5 separate regions of the Homo sapiens genome follow, and regions 2, 3, 4 and 5 are each linked to region 1. The links are contacts of gene promoters, found by promoter capture Hi-C in blood cells and fetal thymus (Javierre and others, 2016). All regions are on one chromosome and are shown on one strand. The core of a region is centred on a gene start or on the middle of the fragment in contact, and the rest is flanking DNA. Distances in the headings are between cores, read along the strand shown.

Evidence for each region. The method cuts DNA at HindIII sites, captures the fragments that hold promoters and counts their contacts. A CHiCAGO score of 5 or more calls a contact.
Region 2: a contact is called between a fragment that was not itself captured here and the fragment with the promoter of SPATS1 in region 1, in 3 of 17 cell types (naive B cells, total B cells and monocytes). The highest score is 8.7, in naive B cells.
Region 3: a contact is called between a fragment that was not itself captured here and the fragment with the promoter of SPATS1 in region 1, in 1 of 17 cell types (naive B cells). The highest score is 5.7, in naive B cells.
Region 4: a fragment that was not itself captured here is called in contact with the fragment with the promoter of SPATS1 in region 1 in 2 of 17 cell types (naive B cells and total B cells); the score reaches 8.8 in naive B cells.
Region 5: a fragment that was not itself captured here is called in contact with the fragment with the promoter of SPATS1 in region 1 in 4 of 17 cell types (neutrophils, naive B cells, total B cells and 1 more); the score reaches 8.6 in neutrophils.

What each region holds. Positions count from the first base shown.
Region 1 is chr6:44,340,784-44,344,746 of GRCh38, forward strand. SPATS1 (spermatogenesis associated serine rich 1) reads left to right here and starts at 1,867. Exons shown (of 9, transcript NM_001372081.1): 1 at 1,867-1,985; 2 at 2,313-2,451. The coding sequence starts at 2,313. The HindIII fragment of the contact is 2,984 bases long and covers 1,564-3,963 here.
Region 2 is chr6:44,114,158-44,118,120 of GRCh38, forward strand. MRPL14 (mitochondrial ribosomal protein L14) reads right to left here. Exons shown (of 3, transcript NM_032111.4): 2 at 2,384-2,472; 3 at 1-52. The coding sequence starts at 2,454. Among named protein-coding and RNA genes, the nearest start is that of MRPL14, 11 kb to the right of the region's middle. RefSeq lists an enhancer at 3,049-3,218. The HindIII fragment of the contact is 188 bases long and covers 2,150-2,337 here.
Region 3 is chr6:44,130,592-44,134,554 of GRCh38, forward strand. The region is part of intron 1 of TMEM63B (transmembrane protein 63B); the gene reads left to right. Among named protein-coding and RNA genes, the nearest start is that of TMEM63B, 5.0 kb to the left of the region's middle. RefSeq lists a silencer at 570-729 and enhancers at 2,574-3,539, 2,962-3,131, 3,540-3,963. The HindIII fragment of the contact is 938 bases long and covers 2,245-3,182 here.
Region 4 is chr6:44,149,823-44,153,785 of GRCh38, forward strand. It overlaps TMEM63B (transmembrane protein 63B), which reads left to right. Exons shown (of 24, transcript NM_018426.3): 16 at 37-143; 17 at 402-488; 18 at 742-807; 19 at 2,024-2,186; 20 at 2,771-2,876; 21 at 3,854-3,963. Among named protein-coding and RNA genes, the nearest start is that of CAPN11, 7.0 kb to the right of the region's middle. RefSeq lists an enhancer at 2,032-2,201. The HindIII fragment of the contact is 704 bases long and covers 899-1,602 here.
Region 5 is chr6:44,180,989-44,184,951 of GRCh38, forward strand. It overlaps CAPN11 (calpain 11), which reads left to right. Exons shown (of 23, transcript NM_007058.4): 18 at 1-9; 19 at 264-332; 20 at 1,953-2,031; 21 at 2,131-2,247; 22 at 2,717-2,775; 23 at 2,918-3,413. The coding sequence ends at 2,944. Among named protein-coding and RNA genes, the nearest start is that of CAPN11, 24 kb to the left of the region's middle. The HindIII fragment of the contact is 4,304 bases long and covers 1-3,963 here.

The DNA of each region.
Region 1 (3,963 bases), core at 617-3,116:
GTTGCTATACTTTGCTGTTTTTATCTGTATTATTTTAAATTTTTATATATTTTTTGAATATTTTTAATCTGTAGTTGGTCATATCTGTGGATCCAAAACCCTCAGATATGGAGGGCCAACTTTTTTTTTTTTTTTTTGAGATGGAGTCTCACTCTCTTGTCCAGGATGGAGTGCAGTGGCATGATCTCAGTTCACTGCAACCTCTGCCCCCCGGGTTCAAGCAGTTCTCCTTCAGCACCCCAAATAACTGGGATTACAGGTGCCTGCCACCACGCCTGGCTAATTTTTTTTTTTTTGTATTTTTAGTAGAGACGGGTTTCATCATGACGGCCAGGCTGGTCTTGAACTCCTGATCTCAAGTGATCCACCCACCTCGGCCTCCCAAAGTGCTGGGATTATGGGATTATGGGCGTGAGCCACAGCCCCAGCCATCAACTATAATCTTAAATTTTAAAAGCCCAATACAAGAGATATCTATATCTATATCTATCTATCTATCTATCTATCTATCTATCTATCTATCTATCTATAATATGTTAACATATTTGTGCACAGAAAAAGGGTAGAGAGGAAGGAGCCCCTAAATATCAGCAGGGGTGTAAATCACTAGGGGTATATGACATACATGTGCATAGAAAAAGGACAAGGAATAACCCCTAAATATCAGTAGGGGAGATTGTATTTTCTAGGAGGGCCACAAGATCCCCTGTCCCCTGTGCTCTTCATACAGTATGACCATGATGGAGAGGTGTGATCTAAGTTCCCTCTCCATGCATTTGTGACTATGGAGGCAATACAACTTCTGCCTGGTCCTCCTGGGATGCTCACGTTGGAAACTCAGACACTGGTGTGAGAAAGCACATGGAAACGCCACACATGGGTGAACTGGCGCTAACCCTGCTGACCTCAACTGACAACCAGCATCAATCACCAGACACATGAGTGAGGAAGCTCCTCTGTGACCTCTGACTGAGACCCTGTGAGAGACCCCAAGCATGAACAGCCTAGCTTAGCCTAGCCAACGACCAGGATCAGAAATTAAAAATGAATGTTGTTGTTTAAAACAACAGAGTTTGAGGGTGATTTGTTATATAGCAATAGCTATCCAGGAAAAAAGTATTTAACTTCTGTATGGTGAGATCATGGATATTAATAATACTTTTCCATATTTTCCAATATTTCTATAATGACCATTTATTTCTCTTATAATCAGTAACAAAAGAAGGGAAAACTTGGTCTAAACACGAATTTAGGGACTTAAACTAGACTTGGAGAAAAGCTTTCTATGCAAGATTTATTAGATACTGGAAAGGATGAGGAAGACAAATTTAAGTCAATATGATGGAAAGAGTGGTGGATTTGGAATGAGGAAACTTAGAAATGAATCTGTTTTCTGGGTGACCTTGCGCAAGCCTTTGCTAAAATTTGGTTTTCTATTTTGAAAAACGCAGCTGGCTGTTTAAGGAAGATAATATCCACCAGGGCGCCTGGCCCAGAAAAGGCGCTCTGTAAGTGGTAGGTGGATCCTGTCTAATCAACGCCAATTATAACCAGGCATCTGCAAGCTTTGTGGAGGGCGCATCTTTCACTGCTACCAGAGCCTACAGTTCTAATAATGAAAATTGCCTGGAAAAGAACCACAACTCTTAAAAAAAAAAAAAAAGTCCAAAATCACAAAGTGGCTTTTGCAGCGGTCCTTGCCTGTGACGCCGGGCCATGGCTGGAGCTCCTTGCTCCGTACCTCTCAGGAGCCTCCATCCTGTACCAATGGCCAGAGAGCCGGGGGGTGACAGACAGGGGGGCCGGCAGCCGAGCCAGGCAGGACGCTGCGCGCCGCGTTACTGGAGCCGGTGTCCCGGCAACCCCGGAACGCGCCTCTGTGGGAGAAGCAGGCGGCTGCGGTGTCCCTTTTGCCCTAGGCTCTCGGTTCTCAGGCCTCGGCGTGCGGCGTGCGTTCGGCAGTTCAGTTGCCAGTTGGTTCGTTGGTCCGTGGAGGCCTCTGAGCACAGACCCGGGCCTCCCCTGGGGAAGGGGGTGGGAAGACCCCGAGGTGGAAAAGAAGGAGCACCTTGAGCTGGATGGGGGCTGCAGCGAGCCTGGTTCGGGCTGGGGGCGGACTCGCTGGGGCTCCCAGGGCTTCCAAACCACGAAACGCCCAGGTGGAGGGAGTAAGGCTCCCGTTTAGAGGCCAGTCCTGCCCTCCTGACTTTCGGTGGCTTGTGGAATTTGTTTGTTTTGACTGATACCTTTCTTACGAGGGACTTTCTTTGTCTCTGGGTTGCTTCTAATATTTAAAATCATCATGGGCACAGATGAGTCCATCCATGCTCACTGGAAACAGTCCACGGGGCTGCCGTCTCCCCTCCATCTCAAGCACGACCTGCGGCAGACAGCTGGAGAAGGTTCCAGAAAAAAGGGACTCTGGCATGACCGAGGTGGAGAGGACCTACAGTTGAGTTCTAAGAAATCCAGGCTGTGGAGTTGGTGGCCACATCCAAGTATACTACACCCGGGGGCGGGGGCAGGTGGGGGGCACCATTTGAAGTTTAGAAGGAAGCTAGTTTGGGGGCATGTAAAAAGAGCTGCTTGAATAGTAGCTTATGTTTGTGCTAACCCAAGATTTGATTAGGCAGAGAGCACCACCAAAGCAGAGAGTCTCATAAATTACCTCACTGGATCTCACAGCAGTGGAGAAGTATATTACCTATGAGTAAAGGGAGCCAGAGATTTGACCTGCCCAGTGCTTGGGTTAATAAAAGGTGAGCCTGGGATTTGACATGAGCCTGGGATTTGACATGAGTCTGCCATACTTTCGAGCCTGTGTCCTTTCATCTTTCCTTTGCTCAGATATTAGTAGGTTTGTGTCATTGTTTATTGGATGGGACAGTTCAGGTGAGAATTATGAACACTCTAAAAATTAAATAATGGCTGGTAGCTCCATAATTGGTTAAGGCCGAGGAGGGTATTTGGGGGCACGTTTGCCTTTGGAGAACAGTGTCATGGCGCTGAACAGCCACAGTCTCCCAGAAAAGCTCAGAGTGCGCCTGCGCTCAAGTTCTCATTTACCTGTTATGGGTGAGTGGCCTGAGTGCTGCAAAAAGGGGTTGTGAAATATCCAGACTTTGCGGGATCAGATCTTAGCTTTCTCCCTGGTCTTCTGTATTCTGGGTGTGTGATCTCCTCATTCTCCTTCACAGTGGGGAGAAAGGAGGGAGGTACAACTCATTCCACCCAGCTATTAATATAAGCTAGGACCGTAGAGAAGGAGGAGCTGGAGGAGTTAGAGCTATTAATTGTCCAAGTGTGTCTGCAACAGCAAGGAGAAAAGGGTTCTGGGATTCTAACTTTAAGCTCCAGACCTTCCTGCAGTTTCCAGTTTGGGGTAAAGGAAGAAGCTGCTGTTTTAAGGATGTCCTAGGGAGGATCCATGTTTTCGAGTTAGGGGTAGCAGAAGGGTACCAGGTCCCAGACCACATTAATGAAAGACCCATGGTGTCCTTTCCTGCTGTGTAGGTGAGTCTATTCAGGAGAATACATCTGAGTTTAGCTTAACATGGAGTCTATGGATTTCAGCAAGGAAGGGGCTCCACAAACCAATTGAAGATACGTGTGTGTGTGTGTGTGTGTGTGTGTGTGTGTGCATTTTTCCATCAGAGAACCGATTGCTTTCATTACTGCTCATGGGGGAGAGGATAGAATCAAAAAACGGGTTAAAAACTTCTGTCCTTGATCCTTAGGCCCCTTGTGAAGCAGATAAGCAGGGGTGGGAAATAGTGTTTGGTTAAATGAGTATCCATGTTAAACAAACATGGCTTGATGTATTATTTTTCTCCCTGCCAGACAGAGCTATTATGACAATCAGCTGAGATGACAAACATATGAAAGTGCTTTGGTTATGTAAGGTGTTATTCCTGCCTAAAAAAATGGAAATAATTATCCTGAATTCCACAGATGGCAATAAAG
Region 2 (3,963 bases), core at 994-3,493, 230 kb before region 1:
CACCACTCGTACCCGCGTCATCTTCTGAATCGCACTCAGACTCCCAGTGGTGCTGGTGGGAGGAAAAAAAAAAGTCTGCAGTCTGTATCTCTTATGGTCAGGGTGCACAGGCCTCTGAGAGGTCAAGGCTAGGGAGAATGTACATGTCAGCAACACACACAGAGCAGAGTGCTGTCCAGGAGCAGCAACAGAAAGTCAGGACTTTGTGAAGACTTATCTGTACCCACAACAGTTTCCTCACAATTGAGAGCTTCTGCTGTTGTGTCAAGGTCTCAATTTGGATGGGTTTTAAAGAGAACCCAATTTTTCTGTGACAATGAACTTCACAGCAGCCATAACTTAAAGCCTTTGCTTTCCAAAAGGACTCTAAGGACTTAAAGGAATCCCTTATGGGCTAGGCCTCACCCACTGCCTATCCTGAAAAACCTGCTTCCCCAGAATACACCATTCCCTAATTTTCTTTTTTTTTGAGACGGAGTCTCGCTCTGTCGCCCAGGCTAGAGTGCGGTGGCGCCATCTCAGCTCACTGCAAGCTCCACCTCCCGGGTTCACACCATTCTCCTGCCTCAGCCTCCCAAGTAGCTAGGAATACATGCGCCTGCTGCCATGCCCAGCTAATTTTTTGTATTTTTTAGTAGAGACAGGGTTTCACCGTGTTAGCCAGGATGGTCTCGATCTCCTGACCTCATGATCCGCCCGCCTCGGCCTCCCAAAGGGCTGAGATTACAGGCGTGAGCCACCGCGCCCGGTCCCCTAATTTTCTTATTTACATGTTGCTGGGAACTAGAAGATATGGGTAAGTTTACTAAGGGAATTCTCTGACACAACATACCAGAAACTGGTAATAAGTCAAGGTAACAATCTTCTGTTTTAATACATTTTTTCTCATTAGAAAAAAAAATTTTAGAGAGTACTTATTGAAGGCAGACAAGGTATTATTAAGCAAGCTGATTACAGTGGGATTCCTATTTTCCTGATGCTAGCACCTGATGCTGGTGTTTCCGCAGGGTAATCCTAGGACCTCTTCTCTCGTTTTTTATGCCTACTCTGGGCAATCTTACCCATTAGCATTGCTGCCAACTAGTAAATTCCATCTCCAGCCCCGCCTCTCTTCTATATTCTAGTTCTATATATTTCCACTCTCCTCAACTCCCTACAACATGCTCTATAGATACTGCAAACTCAGTAGGTCCCAAACTCATCTCACTGCCTCCCCTTGCAAACCTCCGCCTGCTGCTACACTTATCTAGACGATGGCTTCTCCAGCAGTACCAGAAGCCAAGCCATAAACCTCTCTCCACCAACATGAACTGGCCACCAAGTCCTGTTAATATCACCCCCTAAGCACCTATGTCCTTTCTCTCCAATCCCGCCAACAACTTCCTTCATTTAGCAGCTCACTCTCCTACACCAAGACTGTGACATTAGTGTCCTAGTTGGTTCCCATTGCACTTCACTTTGCCAACAAAGAGCTCTCTTTAGAATATAAAAGTGATGCTACTCCCCACCATCTACACTGTCAACAACCTTGTCCCAATTTACCTACCTTCTAAGGCTACACATCCTACCACTCTGGGCAGGAGAACCAGGAACCACTTCCCCAAGCACACCCTGCCTCCCAATTCTCCCTGGAGGCCTAGACAGGATCTGCCCCCATCTCCCTTTTGAGAAGACTGCCTCCACTCTTTCTCCTCCTCTTCCTCCACTAGCAGCTCCTATATGACGCCTTCCAAAGCACTGTACAATCCTCTATTATAATATTCTATCACATTTTCTTAGAGTTACTTATTTTCAAGTTTGCTCCTGTGGCTGACAGTGAGAATTCTTTCAGGACAGAAAGCAACTCTCTTTCATCTCTGTATGGCCAACCCCAGGTGCGGTGCTCAGGAAATGCCTGTGGGATGAGGGCATGACGGGGCCAGGAGGCATGTCTGCCAACAAGCGTGCCTCCTGTGCTCTCCTGGCTTAGCATCTACAAGGAGGGGAGGGTGTCACACTTCTATCATGCTCAAGTTCTTGGTAATAAGCATGTATTATTTTTGTAATTAAAAAAATTCCGTTTTTAAAAGGATTTTAATGCTCTAGGGGAATGATAGGGTTGAGAGATGTCAGATTCACTGTAAGAGTCTTGCAAGGACTGAAGAGTAAAAGCTTCCGCCATATGCCATTCCCCATCACACTTCTAACAGCAACATCACCTCTTTACCTATCCCCCATCCTGTGACCAGACCAACCAGGCCAGCTCAGCCTGATCACTTTAGCTTTCCCCAACCCCATGCCCACCTCCCTGAGTTTTTACTCCTGTTCTAGTCACCGTAATACCCAGCCCTGATAGGAAGCTTACACAAAGACACAGTTTTAAGAACTTAATGGGAAAAGTTACCTGAAACAGTGATGGCTCAGCACTCTGCTTACACAGGTGAAGGGGCCCCAGAGCCCAGTAAAGAAAGCCATGGGATCCCAAGATAGATCCTGCAGGAAAAACGAGAGGGGGAAAAATTGGTTTCTAAGTCAGAGCCCTTAAAGCCAGTTTTCTTTGGGGACTTGTGTGGGAGATGGCACTTCCAGCACAAGATCATTAGTCACAAAATATAAATCTTAGTGGTTAAAGGATACACAGATGATTAGACAGAGCTGTAGCTCCGATTTTGCTGATTCACATTCTAACTCTGGGGTTGGAGAGGGAGAATGGCCCACAACAGCTTCTGCTATAAAAAAATACAACAGCACGGAGAATGCCTTCCTTATTATATCACTTCCACAGGCAGGAGGAAAATATGAGCCCTTGGTTATAAACCCAGCCAGGGACTTCTTCTCGAGTCCTCCATAGAGGAAAAACTGCACACTATTGCCCTTTTTGATATTCATATGCCTTCTGAAACCAGCACTTTAACTCCCTAAAAGAAAGTAAATTATCTAAGCAGCCACCCAAGTTGTCTATCACTACATCACCTTTCCCCCAAATGTAAAGGCCAGAACACCTGTACAGCTCAAGGCCAGCAAAGCAAAGCCAAAGGCTGCTCTTGCCAAGTCAAAGACCAAAGTCTTTATTTGGGTCAGTCTCCCAAACACTGTAACATGGAAAACTGACCTACACCATACTACAGCTGAAAGTGGGCTTTGGGAAACCAACTTGAAGAGTTAGCTAAAAGAGCAAACACCAACCCAAGACTTGTGACTCCAGTTTTCAGAATCTCAACCCTGTTGCTCCCTAGCACTAACAAATATGGAGGCTGCCAGTGCCCTGAAACACCTGAACATCACTTCAGAGCATGCTTCAGAAAGGCCTGTAGCCAGCTGCAAAACACACCTGTTTTTCCACCCAAACGTTTGGCAGCAGAGGTGCCCATTCAAGAGGTCTGCCGAGAAAAGCCTCTACACTGTAGTATTTACACACAGCTTTGCTATGCACAAGTTCAAACCACCTCAGATAAGATTTTATTTAATAAGAATGTTAGGGTGGGGCAGGGGAATCCACTCCTCCCCAGGAATACCTAGACACTCCATACTTTTTTTTCTTTCCTTGAGACAAGTCTTGCTCTGTCACCCATGCTGGAATGTAGTGGTGCAACTGCAGCTCACTGCAGTCCCGAACTCCCCAAGCTCAGGTGATCCTCCCACCTCAGCCTCCCAAGTAGTCAGGACCACAGACATGCACCAGGACGCCTGGCTAATTTTTTGTGTTTTTTTTTTTTTTTTTTTTTTTTTTGTAGAGATGATGGTCTCACTATGTTGCCCAGGCTGGCCTTGAACTCCTGAGTTCATGCAATCCTCCCGCCTCAGCCCCGCAAAGTGCTGGGATTATGGGTGTGAGCCACCCACCACACCTGGCCTTTAAATGCTTATTAACTACAATTTAGCCTCAAATCCCAAACTTACTCCCAAATGTTTTCCTTAAGACAACCCATGAAGCATCAGCCAAAATGTAATTATGATCAGAAAAATCAAATGCAAAAGAAGGCA
Region 3 (3,963 bases), core at 1,464-3,963, 210 kb before region 1:
AGCATGCCCAGCTAAATTTTGGTGGTGGGGGGTATCTTTTGTAGAGACGGGGTTTTGCTATGTTGCCCAAGCTGGTCTCGAACTCCTGGGCTGACGTGATTCTCCCACCACAGCCTCCCAAAGTGCTGGGATTACAGGTGTGAGCCACCATGCCTGGCTTTTTTTTTTTTTTCCCCTCGAGACAAGGTTTTGCTCTCTTGCCCAGGCTGGAGTGCAGTGGCATGATCATGGCTGACTGCAGCCTCCAACTCCTAGGCTCAAGGTATCTTCCCCACTTGGCCTTCAAAAGTGCTGAGATTACAGGGGTGAGCCACCCCACCCTGCCTACTACTACTTTTTTTTTTGAGATGGAGTCTCACTCTGTCGCCCAGGCTGGAGTGCAGTGGCATGATCTAAGGTCACTGCAACCTCTGCCTCCTGGGTTCAAGTGATTCTCCTGCCTCAGCCTCCCGAGTAGCTGGGACTACAGACGCATGCCACCACACCCAGCTAATTTTTGTATTTTTTTAGTAGAGACGGGGTTTCACTGTGTTGGCCAGGCTGGTCTCGAACTCCTGACCCTGTGATCTGCCCAGCTCGGCCTCCCAAAATGCTGGGATTACAGGTGTGAGCCACCGTGCCTGGCACCTACTACTACTTTTATGCTCACTTGTGGATATATTCTTGCCTTTCTCTCTGAAGTGGGTAGGGGTAGAGTAAGGATATTTGTATCTCTTTGTTACAGATTGGAAGACTGAGACTCAGGTTTCGTAGTAACAGAGCTCGCTTCCATCTTCCCCTCCTCCCCTCAGACCACATGGCCTTGCTTTGATCCAAAGCCCTAACTTAAATCTTGCCCAGTAACTCCACTGAAAAAGCTTATATCACTCCTGTAATCCCAGCACTTTGGGAGGCCGAGGTGGGCAGATCATGAGGTCAAGAGATCGAGACCATCCTGGCCAACATGGTGAAACCCTGTCTCTACTGAAAATACAAAAATTAGCTGGGCGTGGTGGCATGTGTCTGTAGTCCCAGCTACTCAGGAGGCTGAGGCAGGAGAATCCCTTGAACCCAGGAGGCAGAGGTTGCAGTGAGCCAAGATCGCGCCACTGCACTCCACTCTGGTGACAGAGCGAGACTCCGTCTCAAAAAAATACACAACAACCCCCCCAAAAAAAAGCTTATAAGTTATAGCTCTCCAACCCCCACCATGCACACACTCCTTAATGGTAAAATTAAAAAGTTAGCTAGAAGTAAAATGCTCCATCACTCTCTGGACACACCTCAACCAAAACCTCAATATCAGACTAGAGAAACTGGGATATAGCTGGTGCAGGCACCTCGTGGAGTGGAAGAACTGCCACCTCCCATCCCCAAGGTATTCTGCCTCAATGTCTTCCCTCTTCTCAGTTGCTCAGCCCAGTGCTGGCTTTGAGAGCAGCTGCCCTTGATGAAACTCAACCCAGCAACCCCACCCCCACAATTAAAAGCTTGGAGCAGCCCTGTCAACTGGCAGAGCTGCCAGCCCAGGCTCCACCCCTTACCTGTCCTGTCACTGTGCAAGTTGCTTCCCCTACTGGGTTCCTGCTTCCTCCCTGTAAAATGGGGATAGTGATCTGAGTGTGCCCTGCCTTCCTCCCATGCAGGTGGGAAGATTAATGCTGTTGTGGAGGGGAGAGTACTTTGTGACCCCAAGGAGGCGGACAGCAGAGGAGCATGGTGATTTCAGTTACTAACCATCTAGCTAGATCCTGTCCACCCTGCTGGGGCCACTTCATGTAGAAGCTTCCAAAATGCTCTACCTTTCTTTGGTGTGGAGAAGACAGGAGTTGATAGGAATGGTACTCTGGGGCTTGTTCTCATTTCATTCTGATCTGATGGAGCCTTGGAATTCAGAGAGAGAAACAGGCAAGGGGTGGGAATAGAGTGTTGAGATTGCTGGAGTACATTGGAGTTGAGAATTGAGAAAGGGGGACTAGTTAGAGTCCCCCCAACCCAAGATACCTATACCTACCTTTAACCTCCCATAGTGCCCCAGGGTTCTGTGCATCTTATGTTTACATACCCGGGCTCCCAGACACACCCATGTTCACACCCCCACTTCGAAGCCAACAACTCCCTTCATTTCCGTGGACTGCCATGCAGTCACCTAGCTCCTCCTGGACACAGGTCCACACATCAACACACATTTACATACCTGGACACACACATTTCCACAGCACCCACAGGTTCTCTGGCCTGAGAACATTTAATGAGCATTTATAAAGCTTCCATGGTCTGCCGAGTCCTGTTCTAGGAACATCAGAAAAGCACCGTGGTGCCCTGAAAATCATTCTAGCTTTAGAAAGAAGGTGAGCTAGGTTTGAGTCCTAGGTCCCTCATTTTATTAGCAGTGTGACCTTGGGAAAGTTACTTAACCTCTGAGGCCCTGTGCCCCCACCCTAAAATGTCAGTGACACTCAATTCAGGATCGTCGAGGATTAAATGAAATCATGTAATATATTATTCTTGAAACTGAGGGCACTGGACAAATGGTACCCAATACAATTACTAAATTAGTGTGTTTTTAAAGGCAGCTTGGACTGGAAAAGGAAGAGGCATAACACACCAGCACACACTCCTTTAGTCTTCCTAATCCAGGCTTTGCAGAGACTCCCTGGGACCAAGTGAAACACATAAACAACTCCATCCTCCCCTCCATCTGAGGGCTTCTGCCTCTTGCCCTGTGGTTGAAGTGTTAGGAAGAGGCAGGAGAAACCCTCTGAGTCCCCCTGGGGGCTAAGGGATGCTGCTCCCGAAGTTGCAGTCACTGTTTCTAGTTTTGTTGTTCTCTTTGGTTTTCCTTTTTCTTCCCTGAGGACCTCCTCCCCTGCTCCACAGCCCGCCCCCGAGGCAGAGCTTCAGTGTTGTCAGCAGAAGGGTCCCCCAGGGACCCCCCAGTAAAATGGGTGGGGCAGTGCTGCATCTGTTGAGGCCACACTTCTCCGCTATCCTGGGATCCTCCCCAGGGCCCCACTCTGCTCTGTCCCCAAGCACTTTGAGAACCCAGGCACTCAGGCTGGCTGTCCCTTTTCTCCTCCTGCCCACCCCATCCACTCTGAGCATCAATGCAGCCGGCCAGTTGCAGGCAACCAGGCAGCACCCTGGCTGCCCAGGCAGGCTAAGAGGCCCCCACCCACTCCCCCCTCCTTTGCCAGTGGAAAAGCTTGCCGTAGGGCATAGCTTTCCCAGCCTTCCCTGCTTCAGAGGCAGGAGCATGGCACTCTGGGAGTTGTAGTGCTCATAACACTCAGGCGATCCCTGTGCAAATAACTGGAGAGAGGACTATGGTATGGGGAAGAGAAATGAGAATAAGCAGGAGTGGCTGGGGCCAGGCAGGTAACTCAAACCCAGAAGTCCTACTATTTACTTGACTTCCTACTCTGACCCATCGTCGAACCTAAGCCAGTTATATTGAGTTCAAAACTCTAACCAAATGAAATCATGCCATTTTTTCTAATAGGCATAGAAAGAAAAGATCAGGATGAGGCAGCTGGCTCCTGACCCATTCTCCCCTGACGTGGAGACCCCTCATCTTACCCTTGAGTCCTCAGGCCTAAGACCCCTCCCTGTCTTCCCAGGCTCAGCTCCGCCCCCTGCCCTAAGACAGAGAGAATGAGAGTGTGGGGGTGGCGGCGGCAGGGGGGATTTAGATAGATGTTAGAAAATCACAGATACCTTCCAGCTTAATGAAACCAGCCTCCCCAGTCCAGGCCTGGCATCTAGACTGAGTTCCCCAGACCCAGGGTGGGGTCATAGCCAGAGAGCCAGTGAAGGTAAATCCATGTGACTCAACTCTCCCCTCCCTAGGCCCTTATCTCCAGAGGCCAGAGCTTCCATCCACCCAGGCAGCCTGGTGATCTGTCCTCACTGCCCCCTCCCCACGCCCACCCTACTGGGCCATGAAGGGGATGGGGGCAAGCCCAGCTGACTGCTCCACCCTCT
Region 4 (3,963 bases), core at 1-2,500, 190 kb before region 1:
CTGCCCTGCCTGACGCCCCCCTGTGCCCTGCTGCAGAACCCCATCATCACCCAGTTCTTCCCCACCCTGCTGCTGTGGTGCTTCTCGGCCCTCCTTCCCACCATCGTCTACTACTCAGCCTTCTTTGAAGCCCACTGGACACGGTAAGGTGCCTCCACTCACACCACACCTCGCTGTGGCCTGCCCTCAATGACCCATCCTCTCTGGGCAGCACTTTGCCCTTCAGGCTCCTGGCCCTGGGCAGTCCCACAGCTGGTAGGGAAGGGGTAGTGCCCAGCACCCTCACCTTGGGAGGCCCACCCTTCCCAGGGGACACTCCTTGGACATTGTCCTTGTTGGGGGAGCAAGTCTGGGGCCTGGGCTCACTTGACCTGTACCGTTCCCTGCTCCCCTCCCTCCAGCTCTGGGGAGAACAGGACAACCATGCACAAGTGCTACACTTTCCTCATCTTCATGGTGCTGCTCCTACCCTCGCTGGGACTGAGCAGGTGAGTTGAGAAGGATGGGGCAGGAGCCAGGGTAGGGGGACAGCAGGATAGGGAGAGGAGAGCAGTTCAGCCTCCCTACCTCCCCTACAAAGCAAGGGGCCCAAGATGGGAAGCCTGGCCACCCCCAGGCCTCCTGAGCTACCCACCCCATGTCTGGGAGTCTCCCCAGTGGCTCACAGAGGAGGGACTTCCCCTCCCCTGGTGTTCTGTACCACTCCAGCTCCCACCCCATCTCTCCTCTGCTTCCCTCCAGCCTGGACCTCTTCTTCCGCTGGCTCTTTGATAAGAAATTCTTGGCTGAGGCAGCTATTCGGTTTGAGTGAGTGACTGGGGCCCCTAGGGAAAGAGACCAGACAGCAGGGGTGGGTATGCTTGAGAGACATTGCCAGCCCCATGGGAGGGTGCAACAAAGCTTCCAACTCCTGGAGGGGGCAGAAGAGAGAGGATCTGGCGGGGTTACCCCAAAGGCACCCACAAGGTGTCTTGGGTGTGTATACATGGTAGAAGTCCCTGGGGTCTGTGTTGGTGTTCACTCTCTGGTAACCTGTTTGGATGCTAAGATCATCCTCAAGGTATATTTGGGGCTTGGGGCTCCACATTCTGGTAGTTTCTATGGGGGTGTCTTGTGCCCATATTCTGGGACTAACTGTGGGCGTCTCTGGAGTTCCACTTGGGAGGTTTGGGGAACCATCTCTAGGGAGGTCTTGGTGATACTTAGGGAGTGTCTTGGAGGCTACTAGGGGTATCCCTGAAGGTCTCTAGAGCCCATATTTTTGGGTATGTGTAGGAGGCTCTTGACCTTATAACTCTGGGGGTGTCTGTGGGCGGGGAGGCTAAAGGACTCACACTTTGGGATGTTTAGCAGTACAAGTTCTGGGAACATCTCTAAAATTTCAGGCTTTTATTCAGAGATGTAACTGTGGAGTTCTGTATGGGCATCTTCTCTGGGAATCATGTGAGGATATATTGAAGGTCATGCACCATGGCTGTGGGCACAAACTCTAGGGGTTTTGCTGTAGGCCATCTGTGGTGATCTTTGAGTCACACTTGGGGCATCTCAGGCACTGATAAAGGTTCCTGGGCTCCCCCAGAGATGTTGCGGGAAGGGTCTCAAAGCTTGTTTGTGGAGGTATCTGAGGCTCATGTCACACTCTGGGGGTAACTCGAGTTATGGTCTAAGTGGGGGAATCTTCTGGGTGTTCCTGGGGCTGTCAGCCTTTGGGTTCTTTGAGGGTCTCATTGGGTTGTCTTTGGGGGTCCTGGACAGTTCTCCCCTGAACATTCTAGCAGCCTTAGGTGGTCTTGAGCACTCTCTCCATGGGTCTTTATGGGGCACAAGTTCTTGGAGCTGTCTGTTGCCACTCTGTATGTCTCTGGGGGGAACAGGGCACAGGTGCTTGGGGCGCTAAGCTGGGGGTGTCCACATGGAAGAAGCATGTTGGTGGTGGAGGTGTTGGGTGCTGTAGTTCTGGCAGTGGGCGGGCGGCCACCGGGTCACCCCAAGGGTGCAGTGCTGGAGCACCTGGTGCCCGCAGGTGTGTGTTCCTGCCCGACAACGGCGCCTTCTTCGTGAACTACGTCATTGCCTCAGCCTTTATCGGCAACGCCATGGACCTGCTGCGCATCCCAGGCCTGCTCATGTACATGATCCGGCTCTGCCTGGCGCGCTCGGCCGCCGAGAGGCGCAACGTGAAGCGGGTACGGCCGCCTGGGGCAGCAGCGGCCCGCACAGCGCCCCCTGGTGGCCCAACAAGAAACAGCAGCCATCGCGCTAGGGTTGAGGGGCACAGGAGGGCTGAGACTTGGGGAGTACAGTTGACTCACGGTGGATCCGGGCCATCCCCTTCCCATATCTGGGGCCTTCGTATTCTGCCATGGGTGGACATAGGTAACCCTGAAGGCCCCTGCCAGTTCTGACAGTAGCATTCTATGATGGGAGTTGGGGAGATCTGGGTCCCTAGCGCTAGGGTCCCTCTGTCTTAATAAGAGGGCTCTGGGCATCCCACTCTCAAGTCCACCCAACTCTTGCCCCCTACCTGCCAGGCCCCGACCCTTGAAGGCCCCTCTCCGTGCCCCATCACTGCAACCGCCCTGACCCTCCTCTCGGCCATAGCCCCTCTCTCCATCTGCTCTGCCCTACCCTACCCTAGACATTAGGTCCTGTTCCCCATGGCTTCTTTTCCGGCCCCAGAGGTCCTGGCTCCCTTCCCCCTCCCTCCTTCCCTGCCCCTCTGGTCAGTCCCTGCCTCCCTGAGCCATCCTCCTGCCCGTCTCCCCCCCAGCATCAGGCCTACGAGTTCCAGTTTGGCGCAGCCTACGCCTGGATGATGTGCGTCTTCACGGTGGTCATGACCTACAGTATCACCTGCCCCATCATCGTGCCCTTCGGTAGGCACCGCCGCGCCGGGACCTGGGCCCTGCTCGGGGGGACCCAGGACTTCACCCTCTCCACTCTAGGAATGCAGGCCACCCCGAGTGGACAGGGCCCGGCTGGGAGACCGGCCCCTCGGGGCTCCCGCCCGGTCCCTGGCTCAGTCTGGGGCCTGGCCTGTGGGGAGGAGGGGGAGAGCCATCAGCTCAGGCCAGACCCAGCTGGCATGTGGGCCCCAGGGCAAAGTCACACCAACATGGCCATACTTACCCACACCTGTGCCTTCCCTCAGCGGGATGTGCTTGGACACAGATCACATACGTGCTGACATGTTCACACACACACTCCCACACAGGCATCCATGTGCACACTTTTACACCACCCTGTAAACTCAGGAAAGACTTGGATTCCAGGGTGGGATGGGTCCTTGCCACTCATGGAGATAGTCTGCTGTATCTGAGCTATGTGACTTGGCCAGGTCTCTCTTCCTTTTTGAAGTTTAGCAAAGTTTCTCTTTAACCATCACCCCCACTGGTAGCCTCTACTTTCCTCCCTAATAACATCCTAACTCCTTAACCAACCCTCCCTGGTTATTGAAGGCTCCAAGTTCCCAAACTAACTTCCTTGTCCTCATTAGAAACTCCCTATCCCTCAGCCTCTGGGGAAATAGAACTTGTCCCTTAATTTATACGTATCTGTTTAGGGACAGGGTTAGAGAAAAATGATACGGGTTTTAAGAAGATGCTTGTTGATTCAAATGACTAGATTTCCAATAGTAGAATTCCTGATGAGGAGAGTAGAATGAGGGGTTGTAGCGGAGGAAGCTGAAGTTCTGTGATCACGCTGGGGCACGGGGCACTATCCCGTCCTGGGGCCCGGGCAGGAGGAGGGGGCCAACCCTTCAGCACTCTCAGGACCAGAACAACCTGTGACAGACACACAAAAGGTTCGGCAGCACTGGTTCCGAGGTCAGGGCCCATGTGGCTTCCCTTAGGGCTCATGTACATGCTGCTGAAGCACCTGGTAGACAGGTACAATCTCTACTACGCCTACCTGCCGGCCAAGCTGGACAAGAAGATCCACTCGGGGGCTGTGAACCAGGTG
Region 5 (3,963 bases), core at 852-3,351, 160 kb before region 1:
CTCATGGATGTATCCTCCTGTCCAGTGCTCTCTTGGCCCTGTCCCCTGCCCACAAGCCTGGCCCAGAGATGGCCACCCTGGGCCAGCCACGTCCTCCTCCCTGATGGGGATTAGGCTCTGGGGTAGCAGAAGATGCCAGTTCTTCTGGCTGCTACAGTACCGGAACCCCAGGGCTTGTGTGTCCCCTCAGGAACCCCCGCTGCTTCCCTATCCCCTGGGATGCCTTCTTCACTCCTTCTCTGCTGTCCTTGACCACCTTCCAGAAAGATGGCTCTGGCAAGCTGGGGCTTCTAGAGTTCAAGATCCTGTGGAAAAAACTCAAGAAATGGATGGTAAAGGGCACTAAAGGGGCAGCCTCCAGGGGTGAGGAAAAGAGGGTCTTAGGAGAGATGGAACTAATGAGGGGAAGCTAGAACCCAAGCCCTAACCACACACACACACACACCCAACCACACCACACTCACACACACACACACACACTCACATACAGACACAACCACACCACACACACACACACACACTCACATACAGACACAACCACACCACACTCACACACACACACACTCACATACAGACACAACCACACCACACATACACACTCACATACAGACACAACCACACCACACTCACACACACACATACACACTCACATACAGACACAACCACACCACACTCACACACACATACTCACATACAGACACAACCACACCACACTCACACACACACACACTCACAGACACAACCACACCACACTCACACACACACATACACACTCACATACAGACACAACCACACCACACACACACATACACACTCACATACAGACACAACCACACCACACACACACACACTCACATACAGACACAACCACACCACACACACACATACACACTCACATACAGACACAACCACACCACACTCACACACACATACACACTCACATACAGACACAACCACACCACACTCACACACACACATACACACTCACATACAGACACAACCACACCACACTCACACACACACATACACACTCACATACAGACACAACCACACCACACACACACATACAGACACAACCACACCACACACACACACACATACACACTCACATACAGACACAACCACACCACACACACACACACATACACACTCACATACAGACACAACCACACCACACTCACACACACATACACACTCACATACAGACACAACCACACCACACTCACACACACACATACACACTCACATACAGACACAACCACACCACACACACACACACATACAGACACAACCACACCACACACACACACACACACACACACACTCACATACAGACACAACCACACCACACACACACATGAAAAGGGTCTGTTGGAGTGTGGCATATTACCCAGTCAAAATATTTTATAACAAGTATAGCTCAGGTATCATCTAGTCATGAAGGATGCACACAAAGAGCGCTGGGCAGGGCACCAGTGCCCCCGACAACCCATGCTTGGAATTAACCCTTAGGTCACCAGATGATAGGAATATCAGGAGTGGGCCAGGGTTGGAGGGGGGCATGGGGTCTTAGGCCACTGCTGTGAGCCAACTGTCCTAAAGTATTTCTTTTTCTTTTTTTTGAGACGGAATCTCACTCTGTTGCCCAGGCTGGAGTGCAGTGGTGCGATCTCTGCTTACTGTAACCTCCGCCTCCTGCCTCAGCCTCCTGACTAGCTGGGATTACAGGCATGCACCACCACACCCAGCTAATTTTTGTAGTTTTATTAGAGACGGGGTTTCGTCATGTTGGCCAGGCTGGTCTCAAACTCCTGACCTCAGATGATCCGCCTGCCTCGGCCTTTCAAAGTGCTGGGATTACAGGCATGAGCCACCGCGCCCGGCCTCAGTATTTCATTATTTCAACCACCATGCCATGCATGTGGCCCTACCATATCTGTCTGTCTCTTCAGGACATCTTCAGAGAGTGTGACCAGGACCATTCAGGCACCTTGAACTCCTATGAGATGCGCCTGGTTATTGAGAAAGCAGGTGGCCAAGGGTCAGGAGTGGGCCTTGGGGCAGGGAAGAGGATGGCAGTGTCCAGAGGCCCAGACTTTTCCCCTCCCCACTTCTCTCTCCCTCTCTCAGGCATCAAGCTGAACAACAAGGTAATGCAGGTCCTGGTGGCCAGGTATGCAGATGATGACCTGATCATAGACTTTGACAGCTTCATCAGCTGTTTCCTGAGGCTAAAGACCATGTTCAGTGAGTTAGGCATCTACCCACTCCCCAGCCTAGGCCAGGGGCCGCGGGCCCTTTCCCAAACACCCACCCTGATGGGTGCTGCTCCAGATCCCCTCCCCCTTACAAGGCACACATGAAATGGATTCAAAGCCCAGCTCCGCCACTTGCTGGCAGAGGTGACTTGAGCAAGTCACTTAATCTTTCTGTGCCTCCATTCCCTCCTCTTTAGAATGTGGATAATAATAGTACTGCCCTCAAAGGACTGAGGTGCAGGTTAAACCAGTTAGTCTATGGAAGGCAATCAGAACTGGGCCTGGCTCCTGGTGAGGCTATGTGAGTTGCTATCATTAATTCCCCACTTGGCTAGGGGATTTATGTGGGGAACAGCCAGGAACACCTGGTGTCGCCCCTTCCTACCTAGTTGGGAGTGGTTCTTTCGGAACACTGACTTAGCATTCAGCCCCTCTCCCCCGCTTCCTCTGTAACGCAGCATTCTTTCTAACCATGGACCCCAAGAATACTGGCCATATTTGCTTGAGCCTGGAACAGGTACTTGGAGAAGGGTGGGAAGGAATCTGCAGGATTGCACCTGCCTGCCCCTCAACCCCACCCCCACCCAGCTCTGATGTCCCCGGGCCAGCATCCTGCCCCCGTCTCTTCCCACCCTGGGATCTGCTTCCTGTCTCCACAGTGGCTGCAGATGACCATGTGGGGATAGAGGCGCTGTAGGAGCCTGGTCATCTCTACCAGCAGCAGCAGCAGCGAGGTTCTAGCCCAGGAGGGTGGGGTGCTTCTTGTAGCCCTCAGCTCTCCGGTCTCTGCTGATGAAATGGGCTCCAGGTGGCAGTGCCCGGGTCCCAGGTGCCGTGTTTACTGCAGCAGTGGGACCTCCGTGCCCACTCCCCCAGCTCAGAGGCTTTCTCTTTTTTCCCCAACCCGGCTTCTGATGGCTGGCTTTCCCCCACCATCGCTCTCTCAGAGTATATTTTACTAAAGAGTAGTTGATGCTTCCCCAGGGTCCCCCTGGCTGGGGAGGCCAAGAATAGGGAAGGGACTTGTAGCCCGTTTCTTACCCTCCATGCTTGCTGTCCTGCTCACACCTACCTGCTGACCACCCATCCTGGCACAGCCTCTGTTTTCCTCCCCATCTGTGGATACTATTCTAATAAATAGCACATGCCATTGGCTTCCATGTCTCTGTGTTTTTATGCCAAGAAAAGACTGGCAAGGGTGGAAGTCACTTACCCAGGACCAAAGGATTGGGTAGCTCTCAGCCAAGGGTGATAGGGAGCATATAGAAATGTGCAGTTGTCACAATAACTAGAGGCCATAGTTGGCGTTTATGGGCAGTGCCAGATGCTAAGCACACAAGTCCCTCCCTGTGAAGAACTGTGTGGTGTGCCCTATGGTGGAGCGCTTCTACGGGGGCTGAGCCAGGGCTCCAGGACTCTCATCTGCTGCTTCAAACTGGGGTCCCCAAAGGTGGCACTGCAGGAGCCTCGAAGGTTAAAAATCTGACACCTGCAGCCAGCAGGTCACATAAATGAACGAACTGCCGGGCGCGGTGGCTCACGCCTGTAATCCCAGCACTCTGGGAGGCCAACGCAGGTGGATCACCTGAGGTCAGGAGTTTGAGACCACCCTGGCCAACATGGCAAAACTCCGTCTCTGCTAAAAATACAAAACTTAGCTGGCCGTAGTGGCACGCGCCTATAATCCCAGCTACTTGGGAGGCTG